Linked DNA regions of Homo sapiens: all the other regions are linked to region 2. The links are contacts of gene promoters, found by promoter capture Hi-C in human tissues and cell types (Jung and others, 2019). All regions are on one chromosome and are shown on one strand. The core of a region is centred on a gene start or on the middle of the fragment in contact, and the rest is flanking DNA. Distances in the headings are between cores, read along the strand shown. Region 1 overlaps NAV1 (neuron navigator 1). Region 2 holds the start of IPO9 (importin 9). Region 3 overlaps NAV1 (neuron navigator 1). Region 4 holds the start of LOC124904482 (a long non-coding RNA gene).

The links. Contacts are between HindIII fragments. The study calls those that stand out against the background at their distance.
Region 1: a fragment that was not itself captured here is called in contact with the fragment with the promoter of IPO9 in region 2 in 3 of the 25 tissues and cell types used here (H1 embryonic stem cells, pancreas and thymus).
Region 3: a fragment that was not itself captured here is called in contact with the fragment with the promoter of IPO9 in region 2 in 1 of the 25 tissues and cell types used here (IMR-90 fibroblasts).
Region 4: a contact is called between a fragment that was not itself captured here and the fragment with the promoter of IPO9 in region 2, in 1 of the 25 tissues and cell types used here (H1 embryonic stem cells).

Annotation. Positions count from the first base shown.
Region 1 is chr1:201,671,252-201,674,136 of GRCh38, reverse strand. All of the region lies in intron 5 of NAV1 (neuron navigator 1), which reads right to left. Among named protein-coding and RNA genes, the nearest start is that of MIR5191, 47 kb to the left of the region's middle. The HindIII fragment of the contact is 3,628 bases long and covers 1-2,885 here.
Region 2 is chr1:201,827,756-201,830,702 of GRCh38, reverse strand. It overlaps IPO9 (importin 9), which reads right to left and starts at 1,546. Exons shown (of 24, transcript NM_018085.5): 1 at 1,331-1,546. The coding sequence starts at 1,493. IPO9-AS1 (IPO9 antisense RNA 1) reads left to right here and starts at 1,144. Exons shown (of 3, transcript NR_046696.1): 1 at 1,144-1,752. RefSeq lists enhancers at 1,247-1,456, 1,468-1,762, 1,919-2,432, 2,433-2,947 and a silencer at 1,507-1,746. The HindIII fragment of the contact is 5,409 bases long and covers 1-2,947 here.
Region 3 is chr1:201,626,240-201,628,956 of GRCh38, reverse strand. The region is part of intron 3 of NAV1 (neuron navigator 1); the gene reads right to left. The region is part of intron 1 of LOC124904482 (a long non-coding RNA gene); the gene reads left to right. Among named protein-coding and RNA genes, the nearest start is that of NAV1, 88 kb to the right of the region's middle. RefSeq lists an enhancer at 19-520. The HindIII fragment of the contact is 6,549 bases long and covers 1-2,717 here.
Region 4 is chr1:201,647,454-201,650,153 of GRCh38, reverse strand. It overlaps NAV1 (neuron navigator 1), which reads right to left. Exons shown (of 34, transcript NM_001389617.1): 5 at 729-1,520. It overlaps LOC124904482 (a long non-coding RNA gene), which reads left to right and starts at 2,170. Exons shown (of 2, transcript XR_007066789.1): 1 at 2,170-2,700. The HindIII fragment of the contact is 4,666 bases long and covers 1-2,700 here.

The sequences.
Region 1 (2,885 bases), core at 268-2,767, 160 kb after region 2:
AAAATCAAGTGAAGGGAGGATTGAGGCCTTGGCTTGCTGTGGGGCATCTGGGCACCTGGACACCTGGGCTGGCCACCTGCCAGGCCTGGCAGCGAGGTCTTAGAGCAGTGGCTGGCGCAGTCCCCAACAGGACTGAGAAATGTTGGCTTAGGCTTTCCTAGTCTTTGGTTGCCGCTTCAAGGCACTGACTGGGCCCTACCTTCAGATGAAGCACCTTCTCCATGACTGCTGCCCTTCACGTTTGACCTCTTCTAAGAATCCTTCCCTAACTCTACCTGGCTTCAATAGCTTCTCTTCGACATTCTCTTGGTATTTATAGACTCAGTTTACAAAGTGCAACTCTTGGGCAATATTCCACATCTAGGCTCTAGACAAGGCTGCTATTCAACTGCTATGCCCCTTACAGTGCCCACGGCTACATACATTCTGTCCTATGCCTGTGCCTTCCCTTGTTAACGATCTGGGTCTTGAACTCTTCTGCCCTCTCTCCCACATCAGAATGGGGGCTCTCTGAGGGCAGGGCCTGTTCCTTGCGTTTGAATTTCTGCATTGAGCTTAGCTGAGGATGCAGAGGGATGGGGAGGTGAGAATGGCCAATGCTGAGAGTGGCCAATAGTAATGTGCCTGACCCTCCCAGCTGTGAAAAGGAGAAGAGAGATGTGAGGTCAATTTTCATTTTTTGGGAGGCTGACAATCTGGTCTGTAAATAATTGAGGCTGCTACTTCAGCTGTTTCACTGTCTCTCCATCTCCCATTTTACCACTCTCCAGCTACTATGCCAAGAGAAGAGAACAGAAATGAAATCTGATAAGTGTGTGCCTCCCACGACCATCCCTTATAGACGCACTCTCGCTCTGCTCGTAGATGCCGCGGCCCATCTGTGGGGCCTGCCTGCCCACGGGCCGGAAGTGTTGGACTCAAAAGCAATCCATCAAATGCGGAGACACATTTGCACTGTGTTCTGAAATACATTTTTAACTTTTATTGCATTCTCACAGAGCCTAAAACAATAAATTCATTAAAGAACAGCAAGAGTGTAGATTAAGCTCACTTTTCTATTTAGCCTGCAAAAAGAGGTGTGTTTAAAATTAACGGCAGTATTTTTTTTTGTAAAGACCAGAGTCAGGCTTTTCTTCGGTACTGCTTGCTGATTGGCCAGTGGGCAGAGTTCTACATGTGGGCCTAACATGCACCCCAAGGGCTTCAGTCGTCCCCACTGGCATCGCCATCAGTCTATGTGCGTCCACAGGGCAGTCGAGCTTGAGCGTCTGTTGGGCGGTAAGTTCTCAGAGCCCAGTCTGTTTGGCAGGTTTTTTACAACATGCAAACCAAGCTTGCCTTCCAGAAGCATCTGAGTCCTGCTCTGACCACAGGGACTTCTTATAGGCTTTCTTAGAGCATCATGTATATCCCTCTGCAAAGCCACCTTATTTCTATGACACCCTGAAAGGCAGCAGAGCCCAATGGTTAAACACACGGCGTCTTGAGTTCTGCCACTTACTAGCAGTAAGAGCTTAGATAAGGAACTTAACCTTTCTTTGCCTCAGGTTCCTGGCCCATAAAATGTGAATGATGATCACAATAACATCTACCTCATAGAAGGGCTGTGTGGGTTCACTGAACTATTATACATAAAGCACCCAGAACAGGGCCTGGCACAAAGAAATTGCTCTATTATCCAAAATCTGGGTAAACTGTCTTGACAACCAGTTCCCAGGGACTTTCTGTGCTTAGAAAGAAGGTTCTTTTAGGCCAGGGACTTTTCAAATTGCAGGCTGTAACTCATTTGTGGATCATGAAATCAATGTAGTGGATTGCAACCAGCAATTGAAAAAAAATTAGACCACATACAATACAATCAAGAAATCACACATACAAAAAACTTAAATATATTGTGCATAGTATTGTTTCATAAAACTTTTGACTCAGTATGTGTGTACTGAGTTTGCTGAAAAATGTATTTCTGACTTGGAGGATCAAGGTGGGAGAAAAAACGTTTCAAATACAGTGCTTTAGGCTGTTGTCAGTTAGTAGTGGCCTCAGTGTGAGTGAGTTCTTGGTTCAGTCCTGAGAGAAAGTAGAGAAGGAAGAAGAGAGAGGAAAGCTTTGGCAGGCTAAAGAGGAGAGACGGGACACTGCTGATAGAGTGGGAGTGGGAGAGAGGCCGGGATGCGGAGGATCAGGATGGCAGAGAGAGTCTTATATCTCTGACATTTTACCCTAAGCTGGGCCTGCTCCTTGTGGAGAAATGGAGCCTCTCTTTTAAGGTTTAACCTCGAGACAGCCTGACATTACTCACCAGAGATAGAAGCCAGCATCGGTATTGTGACCAGTGGCATGGTTCCCCATGGGAACTCCCAGACCAGAGCCCCTTATGGCCAGGTCTGCTGACCAGATAGCTAGGAGATTCTGTGAGAAATGCCCACTGCCTAGAGACCCAGCGTGCCCAGGGTCTGCATCTCCCAGTGACGTCCACCCAACGCTTAGGAGTGCAGGAGTTTTCACATTCATGATCTCATTTGGTCCTCCGCACAGCTTTTTGAGCTAGAAAGGGTAGAGCAAATATTATTCTCTATTTAGGAGAGATGAGCAAATTGAGGCCCCAGGAGGTAGAATGACTTGCTCAAGGTCATACTGTAGCACTGTTAGCCTCAGTGTCCACATTTTTCCCTGTTGGTCCAACAAAGTTCCATTTGCCCACTCTAACCTGTCTCATACCTGCTCAGAGGTATGTGTAGGTGGGGTGGGGCAGGAAGCAGGTATGGAGGGGAGGTGTCGGCTTTGAAGAGGGAGCACCTTAACATATCTGGAGCTCCTCAGTTCAGCCCGTAAAAAGGACATATGAAGAGGGATCAATGTCATACAGGGAGATGGCACACTGAGAT
Region 2 (2,947 bases), core at 297-2,796:
TTCCTTCCTCATACTCAAGGGGGACAGACATTAATGTGCATAAACGAATTTTATTTAGAAGCCGCTAAAAATTCCTTTAGATTAGTTTATACATGGTTCTCAAACAGCTTTCTCCTAACCAGTGGTTTCTCCTGTATAGATCTGATATTTTATAAAACAATGACAATTACAAGTGGGCCTTCAAAATGGTCCTTAGCCTGTTAGATCCCAAATCTTAACATATTTCCAACAGAAGAAAATTTGTTTTCAACAGCTCTTTCATACTGTGAAAGAATGTAAACTAAATTTAAGAGAGATTTGTTCTAAATTCTTTTCAATAGAAATACGTCCAGTAGGAGAGCTAACTGAAGGTTTTGAATATGATGGGTGTGTGATGGGACAATTTCCCATATCTCTGATGAAGTATTTAAGTGGTGGTGGAAATATTCCTGAGTTGGGAGATTCTGAGGATTTGGAGTTCCAGTGAAGCTCTGACCAGATATATTTCTTACACAAAGACCAAGAAGATTTCTCCTCCTGTTTCTGGATTAAATTGTTCTTTGTGGTAGCTACACTGGACCCGGTGAAAGGCTCACGCGGCAGGAAATTGATAGAAAATCTCGAACCAATGGTTTATTTTCTTCTCCATCACTTTAAAGCACACAATAGAGGACGGAGACAAAGAATCAAAAACAAAGGATGATCAGTTCCTCCAAACAGAAATGCACAAAGGTATTTAATAAGGGCAAATTATTTTTAAAATAAACGTTAAGTATGGTCAGGACAGTGAAGCAATCGCATATGCATTTAATTTCTGGGAAAACACGAAGAGTACAAACAACTAGCTAGGTTTATAACTCAGAGGCAGAAACTTGTTTGATGACATCTATTAAGCTTTGATAGCCGCCTTTTCGAGGCCCTACCCTTCACCACTCCTACTAATAGCTCCCCCTACTCTTATCCCAGTACAATCCAGCTGGTGAAGAGAACAGCGAAAGACTTTGGTCCTGGACTCAAAAAATATTTCCCCGACCGCGCTACTTCCTCCAACAGCACCAAGTCTAGCTCCATCTCCGTCCCCTGCAGATTCTAGGCTCCATCTATCTTTTCAAGTCTCCACCCTCCCTCCCCCACTCCCAGGCTCCACCTCCCCCGACCCTATCCTTCAGGCGCGCCTCTCCTCTCTCGGACTTTCACAACCACCAGCGACATCAATCTCTCGCTTCCTGCTCCACTTCTCGGCGCCCACATCTCCAACTGGCTCAGGCTCCCCATGTCCCCAGCCGGTACGGAGCTGCGGTCAGCGGATTGTGCGGCTGAGCCATCCTCGTGACGGTCCCGCCTCACTCACCCTCCGTCACCTCCAGCACCTTAATCTGTTCTTCAGCAGCCGCCCGCACCTCCTGTACTGGGGATAGGATCCCGGTGAGCGTATCCACTAACGCTTCCTTTAATCCTTGTGCCACTGGACCCGGCAGCCCGGAGGCCGCACCAGCTGCCGCCGCCGCCGCCATCTTTTCTCCCCTCAGCCCGCCAGCCCCGCGGCCGGGACCCGCCACCGAATGACGGCCCCCGCGCGCGGCCAATCCGCGAAGCCGCGCCTGCGCACCAGAGGCGGGCGGGAGCGGGCGGAGGGCGGGGAATGAATCTAAGCCTCCAGAGACAGCGCCTCCTGCTGCCTGAACGAGAACTGCACCTTTCTCTGCAAGGATCTCTGGATTTGTGTGAAAACTGAGCCCCAGACAGGTTAAGGGGCTTTCCTAAAGTTGCACAGTAAGTTAGCAATCTCATTTGGAATAAAGTTCATGATATATGACTTTATATTCATGCATCTTTCAGGTGTTAGGAGAGAGGAGGCGGGATGGGAATAGATGTAGAGGGCTTTAAGGAGAGAGGTCTGGGTCACAAATAGCCCCTATTTTAAACCACATTCTTTTCCCCCCAAACACTGAAAAAAAGTTGGCTCAAGTGACTCTCTTCATCTTAGCCTCAGGAATCCAAAGAGGGGGGAAAATAAACTAAAGCAAACTGGGAAGTGGAAGTGGGAAAACCACGGCCCAGTCCCTTGGTTTTCCAGCCTAGATGAGCCCAACCTCAAAGCTGGGAAGTGGCTGGGCAGGGGAGACACCGGCATGTGAAAGGGAGTTTCTTCCAGAGTGAGTGTTGTATGTGACTATTTGAGAATGAATCCTATTTGTTGAAAATGTATAAATTTTTTTCCCTGAGAAATTATGGCTGGACATTTAAGGGGTGCGAGAACAAGAGCAGTTTGATGATATGGTTGTCAGCAGCTGGTCGTGGGAAATGGCCTACGGTGCAGAGCCGCTCCTGAATAGCGGAGCAGGTGGAGAGGATGAGCGCTCCAGTGAGGTGTTAAAAATGCAGGGTGTGGCGAGGCGCAGTGGCTCACGCCTCTAATCCTAGCACTTTGGGAGGCCGAGGCAGGAGGATCGCTTGAGCCCAGGATTTCGAGAACAGCCTGGGCAACATAGCGAGACTTCGTCTCTACAAAAAAATACAAAAATTGCCCAGGCGTGGTGGCGTACGCCCTGTAGTCCCGGCTGTTCGGGAGGTGGAGGTGGGAAGATCACTTGAGCCCAGGAGGAGGAGGCTGCAGTGAGCAGTGATTGCGCCATTGCACTCCAGCCTGGGCGACAGAGTGACATCTTGTCTCAGAAAAAGAAGAAAAAGCAAGATGTAAGCCAAGGCAGGAGGATCACTTGAGCCCAGGAGTTCCAGGCTGTAGTGTGCTGTCATCACACCTATGAATAGCTACTGCATTCCAGTCTGGGCAAGATATACAGACTCTGTCTATAAAAAAAAATAAAAATTAAAAAAAATGCAGGGCAGAGTGGCAAGCATGTAGTGGCAGAAAGGATAGAATGTTGTTGGAATGGGAGGTTCTAGAGCAAACAGAAACAGGTATTTTTTAGTGAGCTGTTCAGGTTATGTGCCTTCAAAATGGTTC
Region 3 (2,717 bases), core at 39-2,538, 200 kb after region 2:
AGGGGGCACACAGGCTTTGGGCTTGCTCGTAGTCCAGGCAGCTTGTAGGTCAGGAAAGAAGGAGGAGTAGGCTCAGCTGCAATCACAGTGACTCCCGGGAGGACAGGTCTCTTGCTGGGCCCGTTGTGGTAGCAGGAAGGAAGGGTGAGGTCTCTGGGCACCAGCTCCCAAGTGCACACAGACCTCTGAGCACAACCTCAACCGTACAGTTGCTCCCAGGAACAAAGGCTGTGGGAGCTTTCATTATAGGCAATTACCCTAGGCTCTGGGAGCTGGCCCGCCCACCCATCCGCCCGCTGTCTCCAGCTAAATGGAGACTTTGGCAGCTTGGCAGGAGGGGGAGGGGAGGGCTGTGCAGGCAGGAGGGGAAATTGAAGGGCTGGGCCATGGAACCCTGAGAGTCTCCAGTGCCACTGAGATTTGTCTTTCTCTCTCTCCAGTTTTCACTTTTTTCAATGCCTAGATGGCCGGGACTCTGGGCTCAATTTTGCCATTAACTCACTGTATAACCTGGAGTAGATCTCTTCTCCTCTCTGGGTCCGGCTTCCATCATGGGGTGAAAAGATGCCCCTCAAGGCTGGGATCTGTTTTACAGTCTAGGGTTGTGAGGTGTTTGCTGCTTCTGCTCAGCTTTTTCTAAGCTATTTAGGCAGTGCTGAGCTCTTTTGTATCTCAGGCCCCTCAGGTGAATGATGGGGATAGTGCAGGGTGGGGTGTCGTTAGAGAAAGCAGGAGGCCTCATCCTGGCCCCTGGGGGTGCTTGGTATGATGGGGACAATCGCCATGTACTACTGTCTCTCTTTTTTTTTTTTTTTTTTGACACAGGGTCTCACTGTGTCACTCAGGCTGGAGCACAGTGGTATGATCAAGGCTCACTACAGCCTTGATTTCCTGAGCTTAAATGATCCTCCCACCTCAGCCTCTCAAGTAGCTGGGATTACAGGCTCAAGCTACCACGCCTAGCTGATTTTCATATTTTTTGTAGAGATGGGGTTTTGCCATGTCGCCCAGGCTGGTCTCGAACTCCTGAGCTCGAGATCTGCCCACCTCAGCCTCTCAAAGTGCTGGAATTACAGGTGTGAGCCACTGCACCAGGCTCTTATTGTCAATTAAATGTCTGTCCAAGTACACAAGTGCCAAGGGGATAAAGAAAGACTGGGGTTGGTTGGTTTCTTGGAAGAAATTAGAATGGACCTGGGATTTTGAAGTAGGGGATGCAACATATTGGTGAGAAAGTAACAGAAAATTCTACTGGGGAGAGGGAATTCTATATAATGTGTCAACTGTTTCATTGATTAACATCATATATGTAAAGAGCTAAGCACAGCGTCTGGGCCAGAGCAGGTATGCAATAACCAGTGTTAAAAATAAGAATAGGCAGACGGGTGCAGTGGCTCATTTCTATAATCCCAGTACTTAGGGTGGGGGGGCCGGGGCGGATGGATCACTTGAAGTCAGGAGTTTGAGACCAGCCTGGCAAACATGGCGAAACCCCGCCTCTACTAAAAATACAAAAATTAGCCAGGCTTGGTGGTGCATGCCTGTAATCTCAGCTACTCGGGAGGCTGAGGCAGGAGGATCGCTTGAACCAGGGAGGTGGATGTTGCAGTGAGCCGAGATCGTGCTACTGCACTCCAGCCTGGGCGACAGAGTGAGACTCCATTTCAAAAAAAAAAAGAAAAAGAAAAATAGGAATAGGCCAGGGTGGTGGCTCACAACTGTTAATCCCAGAGCTTTGGAAGGCCGAGGCAGGAGAATTGTTTGAGCCCAAAAGTTTGAGGTTACAGTGAGCTATGACTGTGCCACTGCACCCCAGCCTGGGGAACAAAGCAAGAATCTGTCTCCAGTAAATAAATTAAAGACTAAAAACAAAAAAAGAAATAGTTACAGTCACGATTGTTGCTGCCATTAATATGATGCAAGAGTGGGTGAGGTTACATCAGTCATATGGGCCAGAAACTCCAATGGCAGAAACATTGAGGAAGGCAGGCTTTATCTCTAATTTCAGTCAGCTCTGTATTTTTATCCACATCTGCCTCCATCTCTCCAAACATGGCCAGGCCTCCATGTCCGCCCTCACTTCTCAGCCTGAGTGGACAGCACTCTGTATGCCAGAAGTCAGGCAGAGGTTGAACCAGAGAGAAGAAAATTGCAGTAGTGACACCAGTAACCCTACGCTCCTGATACCATTAACCATAGTTCCAATTGAAGTCCAACCCAAGGCCCACCCAATGCAGGAAGAAGAGAACTGTTGGGGGTTAGGGAGGTGGTAAAGGGTGCACTGGCAGTTGGGAAAAGTCAGCAAGGGCTGTGGTGAAGCTGCTGTGGCTCTCTTCCAGGATAGCAGAGAGGGATGAGGTTGAGGATGTGATGGAATTAGATGTGTGAGACCAGGGTCTCCTGAGAGCGGACAGGGGATTGCACCTTCTCTGGGTCCAAAGGGAAGTGATGGATGAGAGGAGACAAGCTTCACTGGGAAGGCCACACCAAGGCCCTTGAAAAGAGAGGGCTGTGGAGGATGGGGCAGGGGAGAAGATGGCTGCAAGATTCATTCCCTGGAGAAGCAGGTCAGGCATGACCAGGCTGGAGATGGGGAGGGAAGCAGGTGACCTCTGCTTCTGCATTCCACTGGGGCTTTGCAGAAGGCTGAGGTGCTGGGGCGGGTGGCAGGGAGGGAGGAGAGATTTCCACAAAAACACAATGTCTGTGGATTCTAG
Region 4 (2,700 bases), core at 163-2,662, 180 kb after region 2:
ACAGGGCAAAGGCTTCCCGGTCAAACAGGAGTCTCGGCGCTAACGCCCAGAGCTTTCGACACGCCCTAAAAGACCTGCGGGTGTAGGGGTTGGGGCCAGAGCCGGGGCTGAGGTATCGGACATGCGCCCAGATGCGCACAGCTGGCAGCCCGCCCGCCCCCGGCCCTAGACGCTTCTTTTAGCCAGAATCCTCACACCGCGGGGAAATCCGACTTGCGCTCCCACTCGGGATCCACAGAGGAAGTGGAGCCTCAGCTGTGTTCCGGGGCCAATCAGCCCTCACATCTGCTCTCCCACATCTGTCCTCTAGATCCGGGCTCTCGCTGGACGCTCCCCTTGCAATGCGGGATGCTCCTGTCAAGCGCAGGCCACACCACAACGGAGGTTTCCACCAGTCCCAGGTTTTGCCATATTGGGATTCTGGCTCTATTTCTGAGAGCCTGTAACCCCCTCACCCCCCATCCCATTGTCCAGCCTCACCTCGGGCAGGCCAGAGTCGAGCCCGGGTTCCCGCCTGTAATGTCTTTAAGAAGGTACACTTGAGCCATGCGCATCTGGAGGTGGGCCAGCTCAGCACATCTGGGCGCAATGCCCATCACAGCCTGATCGTGAACAGGAGGGCCCTCCGGGAAGGCGCAAGGGGAGGGGGCTTCGCTTTCCCCACACCTTCCCCAGCAGCTGGTTAGGAGAAAGCCAGGGGCGGGGCGGGGCGGGGCGGCAGGACTTACCCAGCATCTGGCTGAAGAGCAGCTGCTCCAGGTCTCCCAGCACGGTCACCACCAGCTCGGGGTCCACCTTGAGGAAGGCGCGCTCCTCCTGGCCCTTGGCAGAGGGGACAGGCCCAGAGCTCTTTTGCGCCTTGGCCTTGCTGGAGAGCAGCTCGTCGTCCGATTTGCCATCTTCGCTCACGGCCGCTTCAGGCGCCTTGCTGAGCGGCTTGACCTCCGCATAGGGTCCTCGAGGGATCCGGCTCGGCTTTCCCAGGTTGGGCGCGAGCGGAGCCAGGGGGGTCTTGGCGCCGCCCGCCGGGCTGCCCTTGGCCTGGAAGAGCGAGTGCTCCGACTTGGACAGCGTCTTGGACATCAGCGGAGCTTCACGGCCCTTGGACCCCACCTTGCCTAAGCCTTTGGGCGCCTTGGCCATATCGTCGCTCCATTCGGGCTCATAAAGCTGCAGCTTTTTCTCGGAGTCCGTGAGAAAAGAGAGGTTGGTGAGTGACTTCTGCTTGCGCAGGTTGGAGGCGGGCGGCCCGCCGGGGACACGGCTGTCCACGCTGCCGGACTTGAAGACCTTCAGCTCAGCCGCGCTGGCCTTGGCCATGCCGCCGCCGCCGCCGGGCGCCTTGGCGCGCTTGGGCAGCATGCCTCTGCCGTCCGCCGCTGCCGCCTTCCTGCCGGCGCCCCGCGGTTCGTCCGCGCCCTCGTCGCCGCCGCCGCTGCTCAGCTCCACCTCGGGCTGCACGCTCTTGACGCTGCTGCCCAGCATTCTGCCCGCGAGGAGCGCATGGACGATCCGCGCGTCTGCAGGCACGGGGGGAGGGGGCAGGGGGCGGGAGCGCAGGAGGAGGAGGCGGGGGAGGAGGAGGGGGAGAGAGAGGACGGAAGAAACCGAGGAAGAAGGGGAGAGAAGGGGGAGAGAGCGAGGGAGGAGGGAGAGAGGCAAGCCGAGGGCGCAGGGGAAAGAAACGCGAGGAAGGAAGCCGGGAAAAAGGAAAGAGCAGGGAAGCCGGGGAGCGATAGGGCGGGGTCGGAGGAAAAGGGGCGGGGCGGCGGGGAAAATACAAATTAAAATTTAAAAATCAGTCAAAGGAAGGATGGAAGCCCCGCGGCTCCTCCGGCGCCCAGCGGTGCTTTTGCTTTGGTGTCCGGATCCCAGCCCGCGGCCTGCCTGCCTGTCAGTCCCGTGGACACCGCACTGCCGGGCAGCGCCCCGGCCGCACTCAGCCAGCCAGCCAGCCCGAGTCGAGGCTGCAGGCTGCAGCTCCGAGCAGAGGAAGGAGGGAAGGGGAAGGCGGGGAGCAAACAGGAGGAGGGGAGCGAGTGTGCGCACGGGGAGGGAGGTGGGGGAGAGATAGTGTGTCTATTTCTGGCTCGGGAGGGGGAGGTATCTGCGAGCGGAGCTCCAGGGGCGGATGAGTGGGGGGTAGGGGGAAATAAAGGAAAAGCAGTTTTTCTCCCAGCTTTCCGCGTAGAAGCGGGGCGGGTTCTTGGATTCTCGGAGGGCACGGGGACCCCCTGCCGTGTCCAGGATAAAGATCTGTTGAGGAGGTGTGGAGGTGCAGGTAAAAGAGACGGAGGGAGGGCGGCTCAGAATGCGGGAGGGAAAGTGGGCCCGTGGGCCTGAGAGAGATGTCGGGAGAGGGGTGGAGGAATGGTATCCAGGGTGCTCATTCCCCTCCCCCAACCCCAAACCGTCTTTGGTTTTCCCCCAGGAAACTCCCAGTCCCGCCCTACTTCAGTCTCTGAGGCTCAAGGTTGCCCTCCTGAGCCCAGGAGGTAGGGGATGGGGGTAGGACACGGGTGGCTTGGAGAGAAGGGGCCTAGCGTTGACTGGGGAGGGGGCTGAGGGCTTTGTAGGGGAAGGAGTAACTCTTGAGATCAGGAAACTGGGTTTCTATTCCAATTAGCAATGTGACCTTGTCAAAGTCATTGAACCCCTCTGGTTCTGTTTTCTTTTATAGTGGTTATAATACCAGCTTCA